3 separate regions of the Homo sapiens genome follow, and regions 1 and 3 are each linked to region 2. The links are contacts of gene promoters, found by promoter capture Hi-C in human tissues and cell types (Jung and others, 2019). All regions are on one chromosome and are shown on one strand. Each heading gives the region's core, a stretch centred on a gene start or on the middle of the fragment in contact. The rest is flanking DNA. Distances are from core to core; before and after follow the strand shown.

Region 1 (4,169 bases), core at 285-2,784, 1.3 Mb after region 2:
ACAATGATTTATTTTATTTTATTTATTTATTTATTTTTTGAGACAGAGTCTCGCTTTGCCGCCCAGGCTGGAGTGCAGTGGCTGGATCTCGGCTCACTGCAAGCTCCGCCTCCTGGGTTCACGCCATTCTCCTGCCTCTGCCTCCGGAGCAGCTGGGACCACACGCACCCGCCACCACGCCCGGCTAATTTTTTGCATTTTTAGTAGAGACAGGGTTTCACCGTGTTAACCAGGATGGTCTCGATCTCATGACCTTGTGATCCGCCCGCCGCGGCCTCCCAAAGTGCTGGGATTATAGGCATGAGCCACCGCGCTTGGCCAACAATGATTTTTTAGGGACGTGATTCAGCTCATAACATTCTGTACTCTGGACTCCCAAAATTCATGTCCTTCTCACATGCAAGATCCCTTCACCCCCATCCTAACATCTCAAAAGTCTTATTATTATTATTTTTTGAGACAGAGTCTCACTCTGTTGCCCTGGCAGCAGTTCAGTGGTGCAAAGACAACTCATTGCAGCCTTGATCCCCTGGGCTCAAGAGATCCTCCCACCTCAGCCTCCCAAATAGCTGTGACTATAGGCGTGAGCCACCATGCCTGGCTAATTTTTGTATTTTTTGTAGAGACAAGGGTCTTACTATGTTGCCCCAGGTTGGTCTTGAATTCTTGAGCTCAAGCAATCCTTCCACCTTGGCCTCCCAAAGAGCTGGGATTACAGGCCAGAGCCACTGCTCCTGGCCCATTTCAAAAGTCTTAATCCATTTCAGTATCAAACTCTAAGGCCCAAATATTACCCAAATATTATCTGAATCACATATGGGTGAGACTCAAAGTGTGGTTCATCCTGAGGCAAAATTTCTGTCCAGCTGTGAAACTGTGAAGCCAAAGAAGCTATTTGCTTCCAAAATACAATGGTGGGACAGGCACAGGATAGACCGTCAGCCCTGGAAACCACCCTTCTACTCTGTTACTGTAATTTTGATGTTTGTAGATTGCACATGTAAGTAAGCACATGCAGGATTTGTCTTTCTGTGTCTAGCACATTTCGCTTAGCATAATGTCTTCAGGGTTCCTGGATCCAGCCACGGCTGCACATCAGATCTTCACGGAGATCCTAGTTCCCTGACTACTGAGTAACTTCAGCCTTAACTGGCTTCAGCCTCACTGGCAAGACCCGATGGAGTCCACCAGGCTCGCAAAAATCGATTTTGACTTAAATCAGTTCAACTTGACAAGAAGAAAACATCTTAGTTTCCAACAGAAGTGGACCACAACTTTAAGCTTTGACCTTAAAGTCTAAAACATTAACTTAAAATAGGCAGGAAGCAACGCTGCTTCACAGGACAAGAAATAGTCACAAATACTCCTAAATCGGGAGAACAAAGACTTGCTGGGTGGAAGGCAGAGCGAATAACAGGCCCCGCCCACCAAACAGGTCCCGCCCACACCGCCCGTCCCGCTTAGCCCACCTGGCCCCGCCCACTACCGCATCAGCCTTGCCCCACCCTTTCAGGGTTCCCAAATCTGGCCAGTCTTTCTGCCCTTTCCCTTGCGGGTCGCACCCCGCCCAGGCCCCTCTCCCGCCCCAGGTCTCTCAGTCTTTTTTCTCAGGGCGTGTAGCTTCCTGCACACCCGGAAGCAGATCGCGCGGGGAAAAGATCACAGCGCTGCGCGTCAGTTTCCGTCTACCTGGACTAAACATTTGCTTCGCCCCGTCTGCCTGAATCGAACGTGCACTTGGCAGTCTTCCCTTGTCCATACCCGTTTCCTGGGGATCGCTACGGACCTTAAAATACCAGCAACAGCCCCTTCGCCCCAAGTAAGTCTGATAATTGCTTCCCTTTCGGTTTAAAAATCTCTCTGAGGCTGTTCCTTGCTCCCTGCCTTTCTGCCTTAGGACCATGTAGACAACCCCACTCAGGTCGTGTTCCTGCTTAAAACCCTTACTGACCTCTGCTTCGGCCCTGCGCCAAGTCGAGTCCTCACTCGGGAGGTGGATTCCCGCCCGTTGCGACCCCGGAGCTTCTCCGTCGTCAGCCCCTGGAGGGGAGCGCCCGCCGTCCGGCTCCTGAAGGAGTCGCTTCTCCTCCCAGGTCCTGGGATTCTGCAGACCCTCCCTGTCCTGAGACACCGTACCCCCTGCCACCTTGTGTCCTCCTCACGCCGGGTCCTTTCGCTCCCCAGGCTTCCCCTTCACAGCCACTGCTTTTCTCGATCCCCCCCTTGGGGGAGGTCACCTGAGTCTTGTGACACCCAGTGTTCTTCCTTCCCAAATTTTACTCCACTGGAAAATATGCTTTTCCGGGAGGTGGGCATCCTATTCCTCCCCTTTCTTACTGAATGTGTGGGTGAGAGGGATCAGGAGAGGAAAAGAAGGGGAGCGACGGAGCAAAAGGAAAGACCGAATAGAAGAGAATGAGGGAGACCCATAAATACACGGCAAAATGGATGATAATTTAGGGATTTGCAAAGAGACAGCAAGAGTGAAAGAGAACGAATGGAGAAAGAAGCAGGGGGAGGAAAGCACACAGAGAAATTTAGAAAAAAAGGGGGACCTTCAGAGAGATGAAAGGCAGCAAAATAGAGTGGGGCGGCAAAGGAGGAGGCACTGCAGACAGACAGTGGGGAGAAGGTGAAAGAGTTGGAGCCGCAGCCGACAGAGCTACGTGGTGCTGGGACTGAAAGAGAGGGAGAGAGGGCAGTGGGTGACAAGCAGAGTAGAGGGAGAACCACAGCAGGGAGGAAGCCTAGGGAGTTGGGGGTGCTAGAGAGTGGGAACAAAGGAGGTGTAACAGGTAAGAGGGAATTTTAACAAGGAGAGCAGAGAGGGAGCTCAGATGGGGAAAAAGAGGCGGAAATACGTGGAGATTGGGGACAATCAGAAAGATTGGGGAGAAAGAGCTACGAGAGGTGAAGTAAGTTGCAGAGCATCGGGCAGAACAGACATAAAGAGGAGAAAAACAGAAAAGGGGAGGAAAGGTGCAGAATGAGAGAGGGACACACACAATAGTGAAGAAAGTGGGAGAGGACCCCATCCAGATGAGCGATGAGTTGATTGGATATGGATGGTGGTTGTAATATTCTAATTTGTGACTTTATACTCTAATTTAAAATTCATTTCTTTAAATTGTACTCGTGAGGATGAAAATTACCACTCTTTTCTGTAAGGCTTGTGCATTTTGTATTTATTTGTATCAAAAGATATTTGGAATTTCTGTTTAGCCAGAGAGCATTTAAATTAAGTCATTCGTGGTAACTCTTTTCTTCCCTGGGATGGGGTAGAGGATAGAGTAACTGAGAAATGGGGCGATAAATGACTGTCACTGTCACTACAAGGTATGTCTTTTTTTTTTTTTTTTCTTTTTTGAGACAGGGTCTTGCTCTGTCAGACTAGAGTACAGTGCCATGATCTCCGCTCACTGCAGCCTCAACCTCCTGGGCTCAAGCAGTCTTTCTGCCTCAGAGTGCTGGGATTACAGACGGGAGCCACCACGCCAGGCCTACGAGGTATATCTTTGTATGAGTATTCAGAGTCTTATTTTTTTTTGGTAATGGATTTGCTTTTTTCTTTTTTTGGGACGGAGTTTCGCTCATGTTGCCCAGGCTGGAGTGCAATGGTGCCATCTCGGCTCACTGCAATCTCCGCCTCCCAGGTTCAAGTGATTCTCTTGCCTCAGCCTCACGAGTACCTGGGATTACAGGCATGTGCCACCACGCCTGGCTGATTTTGTATTTTTAGTAGAGACAGAGTTTCTCCATGTTGGTCAGGCTGGTCTTGAACTCCCAACCTCAGGTGATCTGCCGGCCTCGGCCTCCTAAAGTACTGGGATTACAGGTGTGAGCTACTGCGCCTGGCCTACTTTTTTCTTTGTAGTTCCACTTAATTCATCGTTATTTTGGAAGCTTGAGATAAGTGTTAGTTTATTCAATATCTGCCTTTCTATAAATAATTACTGACTTCTGAAATAAGATTTGGTGGCATCCTATAATCAGCTGACGTCATTCATTTCTAAATGTTAAGTATTGTCATTTTTTTAAACTTTCACCCTATAACTCATTAAATTTTTCAAAAACTTTCCAAACTGTTAAAGTGTCCAATACAGTATAGACACCACGGTGTACGTTAGATTCCCCTGAACTTCTTCATTTTATAACTGAAAGTTTATACG
Region 2 (4,284 bases), core at 1-2,500:
CCTCCTTCAGTAGATTCAAAACCTTAATAGGAGTAGTTCTAGCCATACTAAGAATTGGTTTGATACTCCCTTACCTCTTACCTCTCCGTGTTAAGAGCATTCAATCAACTATAGAAGCAATTGCGACCAGGCAGACTACCACTCAGCTAATAGCCCGATATAAATATCAGCCAGTGCTCTTTCATGAAGAATCCAGTAATAGTGATGTCTTCTAGTAAAATCTTGTTCATAAAAGGCATCTAAGGGAGAAAACTGAGGCAGAAAGTTAAAAAACAAACATGCATTCATTCACTCCAAGAAAAGTAACAGGCAAGGCAAGGGTTAAAAAGAAAAGAAGAACAAGTTTTCCTCTGCCTAGCAAGCTCGACTTGGCGAAGTCGAAGCCAAAGAAATGGGCTCCAGACAGCCCCCCACCTTCCCAGAACAAGAGTGAAGAAAAAAAAAAAAAGGACAAATGTGTGTATTTAGCTGTTCTTGTTTTTCTTTCAACTCAGCTACGAGGCCACCAGCTATGGAAGGACACAAGTTATGCTATGCTATAGATTACATGACCTATCATTATATGATTAACTGCTTTTATTCTGCTTCTGAAAGCAAAAAACCCCACTCCGTCTTTGTTGAAATGCTCAGCTTTTTAGATGTAAATCCACTGAGCCGGTGCGTATCTTAAATAAACATCCTTTTGTCTCCCCCATATCAGTCTGTCTAGTCCTCAGTTTCCCGCAACACCATCTCTGCGCCTCCTTTGCTCTCCCCGTTAAATTCTCTCTTCCCTGTTATACCCCCCTGTCCCCACTCTCTAGCACCCCAGATCCCCAGGTGTCCTCCCTGCTGTGCTTCTCCCTCTGTTCTCCTTGCCACCAGCACCACTCTGCTCTGTCTGCCCTGGCTCCAAATCCCTCCTCCTCTCCCTCACCCTGATGAGCCTCCCTCTTTGCTGTCCCTCTCCCTACCTTGCTGTCCTTCATCTCTCTGTACATCCAGCTTTTCTCTACATTTCTGCACTTGCTTTTCTCCTCCTGCTTTCTTATCGTTTTCTTTTCACTTTTGCTGTCTCTTGGCAAATCCCTCACCCATCCTCTACTTTGCCATCTGTTATAGGTCTTTCTCATTCTTCTTTTCTGTCTCAGGTTTTCCACTGCTCTCTGTCCGTCTCCTGATCCCTTTGGCCCACACAGTCACAGGAGGGTTTGGAGTAAGACGCCTGCATCCCGGGGGAGCGCATTTTCCAGGGGCTGGAGCTGGGCAGGCAGTAACACCCCGCGTCACAGGACAGGCCCCGGGCACCTCCCCAACGCGGGCTCAGGGGAAGCGGTGATTGTGGAGGCGAAACCCGTGGAGCAGCAGGGCCCGGCACAAGGAGGGAGGTGAAGGGGCGACAGCACCTTAAGGCAAGGGTGGGGTCTGCAGGATCCTAGGACCAGGCAGAGGACGCGGCCTTTCCGGGACTGGGGCAGCGGCGCTGGGCTCCAGGGGCCGACAAAGGCGAGAATCCACCTCTCAGGTGAGGACTTTAAAAAGCGCGGGGCGGGAGGAGTCAGAAAAAGGTTTACAGCAGGAAAACTACAGGTTAGAAAGTGTATACATTGCCCTGTAGCAGAAACACCCGGGACGGGACCAGCCTCAGGGGGACCTTAAACCCAAAAGGAACCGACCCACGGCCTCTCACGAGGTCGTCTCAATTTGCTCTGAGTGAAGGAAGACGGCTGAGAATTTCCAGGTTTGTGGGGATCCCAAGTCCCAGGTACAGAAGCGCCAGGAACCTGGAAGAGCAGACTTAATACAAGACAGGGCGAAACTCACGCGCCGCGGTGGCACCGTCACTCCACGCTATCCGCTTCCTGGTCTGCACGAATCTGCGCGCGCAGAGCAGAAGCCAGGCCTGGGCGGGACCCGCAAGGAGGTGGGCGGGGCCTGGACGAGGCAGGGGCGGGGCGCGAGGCGGAGAGACCTTGCGCTTTAGAGCCGGCAGAGGGCGGGGCCGGGGCGTGACCGGTGCTCCTCTCAGCTTCTCTCCTAGCACCTGTTTTCGGGTGGTGAAGGTGAGACCGCCCAGGAAGGCTGACGCATGGACTCAAAAGCCCTGGAATTGTCTGGAACGGGATACAAACTAGAATGTAAAATGCAAGGCCCTGCCTGGGCGGAACGTACGATTTCATGCTGACGGCCCACAGAACAGAACAGAAATCCTCTCCCTTTCTATTCTCCACTCACTCAGGAGGGAGAGTCCACCCCGTGCTCAGCTGCAGAGACTTCCCTAGGGCCTCCCCCTGGGATGCGGGACGGAATGCTCAGGCCAGCCAGGGGCGACCTGCTGGATAAACACAGCAAGGATTCAGGCGCGGGGGCGGGAGCCTGAGTTCCCAGCTACTCAGGAAGCAGCGGCGAGAGGATCGCTGAGCCTGGGGGTCCAGGCCAGCCTGGGCGACAAAGTAACACCCCTCCCTCAGGACTCCCTCCCTCGTCTCTCTCTCTTTTTTTCTCCATTTTTTAACGTTAAAATAAAATTTTGATTGTGTGAGATAGGGATACATTATTCTTTTCCATGTGGATATCCAGTTAGTTGTCCCAGCACATTTGTAGAAGAGATCTATTACTTTCTTTTATTTATTTACTTATTTCTTTTCTTTTATTTTGAGACAGAGCATTTCTCTGTCGCCCAGGCTGGAGTGCAGTGGCAGGAACTGGGCTCACTGCAGCCTCTGCCTCCTGGGTTCAAGCGATTCCCCTGCCTCAGCCTCCGGAGTACCTGCCATTACAGGCGCGTGCCACCATGCCCGGCTAATTTTTGTATTTTTGTAGGTGGGTTCCCCATGTTGGCCAGCTGGTCTCAACCTCCTGACTTCAAGTGATCCACCTGCCTCGGCCTCCCAAAGTACTGGGATTACAGGCGTGAGCCACTGTGCCTGGCCCCCCCAAAATACTTTTTACTTCACTGTCTAATTGTTGAGAAAATATAATTGAAAACAAACAAAAAGTCTTTCTCCAAATGAGAAATCATCTCCACGATGATCATAGAGAAAGAAATTAAAACCATTTCATTAATAAATAAGCCTTAGACCAGATTGTGATGCGAAATACAGGCAAACAGCTAAGAGGTTGAAAAAAGAGAAAGAAACTTTACTGTTCTATACAACCCATTAAGGACATGTTTTCAAGATAAACGCTAATCAGTCCTCAGGGAAGAGGACTTGACAACACTCTTGGTCACACATAGTTCATCCTGACTCTACTTGGTAATGGAGGTGACCATCTGTGTCAGCTAATTAGCTTCATTCTGAGGGACGGGGAGTAACACTAACCCATGTCTTTCTGACAAGTGTGAGTTTTACAACATAGCGACAGGTGCCCTCTCTGGTGAGGCTCCTACAGTCTGACAGAAACTGATATCAGCAGTAAATAATAAAATTTAGAATATATGATTAAGCACAGAGTTTATTTGAACACAAAGCATGAGGATAGCCACCTGGAAACATCAACTCCAAATGAATGGGATCAGCGTTCCCTTAGGTTTCACACACACGGAAAGACAGAGAAGCTTTAGAAGAATCACCACATTTTCCATTCAAGACCAGTACATAGGGTGCAGCAAGGTGATTGGTTATGGATTGATATACTTCAAGGAAGGTTACTTTATCACTCAATATAAAGGGACAATGATCCCAGGAGGTCTTATCTCTGGGGCTGCTTAGTCTTTTTAATTATTTACAGGAAAATTCTCTCTCTCTTTTTTTTTTTTTTTGGACGTAGTCTTGCTCTCTCACCCAGGCTGGAGTGCAGAGGCATGATGTCAGCTCACTGCAACCTACACCTCTCAGATTCAAGCAGTTCTCCTGCCTCAGCCTCCCAAGTAGCTGGGATTACAGGCATCCACCACCACATCTGGCTAATGTTTGCATTTTTAGTTGAGACAGGGTTTCACCATGTTAGCCAGGCTGGTCTTGAACTCTTGACCTCCGGTGATCTGCTCACCTCAGCCTCCGAAAATGCTGGAATTACAGGCGTGAGCCACCGTGCCCAGCCTATAAGTGGCTTTTTTACAGCGAATGCTATGCAAAACTTCTCATCAGTCATCATCATATTCAATAGCATTGCTTTTATCATATCACGGAAACCATTATTCTCATTTGGAACAGTCTGCCATCAACCTTCACAAATGCATATGGAAGCCCTCATGCTGGACTTCTCCTCACCCTAGAATCACCTGGGGGCAGGGTAGTTAATTGAAACAGCATGGATGTTTCCCCCGACACCAATAGACAGACGCTATGGGGAGGGCACAGG
Region 3 (3,902 bases), core at 1,403-3,902, 1.9 Mb after region 2:
ATAGCCAAAGCTATCCGGAGAAAAAAGAACAAAGCTGGTGGTATCACTTTACCTGACTTCAAAGTATATTACAAGGCTATAATAACCAAAACAGCATGATATTGGTATAGAAATAGATACATAGACCAATGGAATATAACCCAGAAATAAGGCCACATGTATACAGCCAATTGATTGTCAACAAAACTGACAAGAACTTATATTGAGGAAAGGACACCTTCTTCAATAAATGGTGCTGGGAAAATTGTATACCCACACACAAAAGAATGAAACTGGATTCTTCTCTCTCACCATATTAAAAAAAAACTCAAAATGAATCATACACTTAAATGTAAGACCCAAAACTATAAAAAAAAAAAACAGCTACAAGAAAACCTAGGGAAAACTCTTTTGAACATTGGTCAGAAGAGTCAGAAATTATGACTAAGTTCTGAAAAGCACAGGCAACAAAAACAAAAATAAACAAATGGGACTTAATAAACAAAAAGCTTCTGCCAGGAAAAGAAATAATTAGAGTGAAGAAACAACCTGTTGAATTGGAGAAAATATTCGCAAACTATTCTTCTGACAGGAGACTAATATCCAGACTATACAAGGAACTCAAACAACTCAACAGGAAAAAGCAAATAATCCAAGTAAAAAGTGGGCAAAGGACAGGAATAGACAGTTCTCAAAGAATACATAAGAACAGCCAATACGACAAAATGGTCAGCGTCACTAATCATCAGAGAAGTGCACATCTAAACCAAAATGAGATACCGTCTTACCCAGTCAGAATGACTATTACTAAAAAAACAAAAAATAACAGATTTTGGCAAGGATGAGGAGAAAGATAACTCTTCTGTACTGTTGGTGGGAATTTAAACTAGTACAGCCACTTTTGAAAACACTATGGACATTTCTCAGGAACTAAAAATAGAATTACTATTCGATCACTCAAGCAATCCCACTACTGGGTATCTACCCGAAGGGAAAGAAAGAAATACATCAAAGAGATACCTGCATTCACATGATTTTTGCTGCACTATTCACAATATCAGAGATATGGAACCAACCTAAGTGTCAATTAACAGATGAATGGATAAAGAAAATATAGTATACATGCTATTTGGCCATAAAAAAGAATGAAATCGTGTCATTTGCAGCAACATGGATGGGACTAGAATTCATTATCTAAATTGAAATAAGTCAGACACAAAAAGACAAATGTTGCATGTTCTCACTTACATGTGGGAGCTAAAAAAATATTATCACATGGAGGTGGACAGTAGAAAGATAGACAACAGAGACTGGAAAGGGTCAGATGGGGGAGGACAGAAGATGAAGAGAAGTGAGTGAAGTGCTACAAACATACAGTTAAAAGGAATAAATTCAGCGTTAGAGAGCAGAATAGTGTGATTTTAGTTAACAAGAATGTATTGCACTCACGTGACGGACACTCTAAATATCCTGACATAATCATTACGCATTATATACATGCAAAAAAATTTTACATCTACTCCTTAAGTTTGTAGAAATAAAAAAATTTACAAATATATGGTGGCAAATTCTAATACCTCATAGGTATTAGAGATTTGCCAGATGCATACTGCACAGAGGAAAATAGAAAACCATGTGAGCTAGACCTAAAAATTTTAATTTTGTCAGGATATTCTGCTCACGTTGTCCAGAAATATGTCTTTTGTGCCACATTTAACTGTGAGAAGCAGATTTTTCACAGGAAAGAAATTGCTAATCTCTATGATGAGGACCTAAAAAAAAATCTCTCCAGTCCACACTGCACTGAGTGGCAACATTAATTCAAAAGAAGTTTCTTCTGCACTGCAGTTCATAAAATATGTGTCCTTTTTGATTTACATGAAGATGTTGCATGGTTCTTATTTTGGAGATGTCATTGAAATTTTGTAAATCAGCGTACTAGCTGTCAAGGAAAAACCTCCATACTCATGTTTTAAAAAATATCTGGCATTCTACTGTGTCACTTGGCAAACTCACCAGTGTCCACAGCTCTAAAGCTAGATAGTGAGGGTGTGTGCTGAGGATGGGAAGCTATGGATGGGGATCATCTCAAGGGTAGGGACCAGGTCCCTGGCATCTCTTCTCCAGCCCGACCTACATACAGATGCTCACTATGTCTTTGGTGAATGAATGAATGAATGAATGAATGAGTGAATGAATGAGTGGCTATCACCCACACTGCACCTGGGACCCTTCTTCCTTTCACTGTCCCAGACACTCCCACAGACCCTACAGAATCCTATATCCTGCAGGACTGACTTTCTCATGGCGTGGGATGAGGCTGTGACTCTCTGGGGCCAGGAGTGACCAGCTCCCAGGTGTAAACAGTGGTGCACAGAAAAGCACCTCAGGTGGGCAGGGCCTTGGACACAGGTTTCGCATTCCTCAGATGCCCCGGGAGGCCCTGGTCCGGGCTCTGTTGCTCACAGGAAGCCCCGAGGTGGGAGGCGGGACACAGTCTCTTCTCCTCTGCTCTTCTTTGGGCAGGTCTCTGGGTCTCAAAGTTTCCGTCTGCTCTGTGCAGAGGGAGTGGAGCTCCGAGGGCTTGTGGCTTCGCAGTTCCTCTTCTGTGAACAGCCGAGATCACGCGCTCCTCCCCAGCCACCCGTTCCTCCCCGCAGTCCTTCCCCTCCACTCCCTTCCCCTTCTCTGCTCATGCAGGGAGCCCAGGAAGCCTCCGCCTCAGAGATGCTACCGCTGCTGCTGCCCCTGCTGTGGGCAGGTGAGTGGGCCAGGGGAGAGGTGCCGTGGGGCTGGGCCGAGCTGACCCTCATGTCTCCATAGGGGCCCTGGCTCAGGAGCGGAGATTCCAGCTGGAGGGGCCAGAGTCACTGACGGTGCAGGAGGGTCTGTGCGTCCTCGTACCCTGCAGATTGCCCACTACCCTTCCAGCCTCGTACTATGGTTATGGCTACTGGTTCCTGGAAGGGGCTGATGTTCCAGTGGCCACAAACGACCCAGACGAAGAAGTGCAGGAGGAGACCCGGGGCCGATTCCACCTCCTCTGGGATCCCAGAAGGAAGAACTGCTCCCTGAGCATCAGAGATGCCCGGAGGAGGGACAATGCTGCATACTTCTTTCGGTTGAAGTCCAAATGGATGAAATACGGTTATACATCTTCCAAGCTCTCTGTGCGTGTGATGGGTAAGGAACCAGCTCCAGGACTAGCCACAGGGGAAGGTCATGGGGGCCGTAGGGCAGGGCTGGGACGGGAGCCCCGTCTTGGGAGGCGGGTACAATTAAGCATGTTGGGCTCAGAGAAGGAGCTGGACCAGAGACTGGGCTTCCCCCTGGGTGAAACCTCAGACCTCCATCCTGATCCTGCGTCCCCATCTCCTCACCAGCCCTGACCCACAGGCCCAACATCTCCATCCCAGGGACCCTGGAGTCTGGCCATCCCAGCAATCTGACCTGCTCTGTGCCCTGGGTCTGTGAGCAGGGGACGCCCCCCATCTTCTCCTGGATGTCAGCTGCCCCCACCTCCCTGGGCCCCAGGACCACCCAGTCCTCGGTGCTCACAATCACCCCACGGCCCCAGGACCACAGCACCAACCTCACCTGTCAGGTGACGTTCCCTGGAGCCGGTGTGACCATGGAGAGAACCATCCAGCTCAATGTCTCCTGTGAGTGCTGGGCCAGGACGCCCGGGTCCCTGAGGGTGTGGGGGGACAGGGCAGGGCTGAGCCAGAGCTTAAAGTTGGGGACCTGGTTGCCAAAGAGGAGAGCCCCTTTCCCTGTTTTCATGGCTCCTGAGGGGAAGGCCCCATGCCTACCATCCCTCCTCAGGGATGTTGAGGCGGCCACCTCTTTCCACCCCAGATGCTCCACAGAAAGTGGCCATCAGCATCTTCCAAGGAAACAGCGCAGGTAGGAACCAGCCAGTC

What was found. Contacts are between HindIII fragments. The study calls those that stand out against the background at their distance.
Region 1: the fragment with the promoter of ZNF836 here is called in contact with a fragment that was not itself captured in region 2 in 1 of the 25 tissues and cell types used here (hippocampus).
Region 3: a contact is called between the fragment with the promoter of SIGLEC6 here and a fragment that was not itself captured in region 2, in 1 of the 25 tissues and cell types used here (hippocampus).

Annotation. Positions count from the first base shown.
Region 1 is chr19:52,168,986-52,173,154 of GRCh38, reverse strand. It overlaps ZNF836 (zinc finger protein 836), which reads left to right and starts at 1,534. Exons shown (of 5, transcript NM_001102657.3): 1 at 1,534-1,819; 2 at 3,374-3,507. RefSeq lists a silencer at 1,366-1,415 and an enhancer at 1,996-2,135. The HindIII fragment of the contact is 5,540 bases long and covers 601-4,169 here.
Region 2 is chr19:53,429,548-53,433,831 of GRCh38, reverse strand. The region is part of intron 9 of ZNF765-ZNF761 (ZNF765-ZNF761 readthrough); the gene reads right to left. It overlaps ZNF761 (zinc finger protein 761), which reads right to left and starts at 1,848. Exons shown (of 5, transcript NM_001289951.2): 1 at 1,804-1,848. It also overlaps the pseudogene TPM3P9. RefSeq lists a silencer at 1,892-1,971. The HindIII fragment of the contact is 5,404 bases long and covers 1-3,952 here.
Region 3 is chr19:51,530,420-51,534,321 of GRCh38, reverse strand. It overlaps SIGLEC6 (sialic acid binding Ig like lectin 6), which reads left to right and starts at 2,652. Exons shown (of 8, transcript NM_001245.7): 1 at 2,652-2,740; 2 at 2,803-3,162; 3 at 3,363-3,641; 4 at 3,838-3,885. The coding sequence starts at 2,674. The HindIII fragment of the contact is 9,007 bases long and covers 1-3,902 here.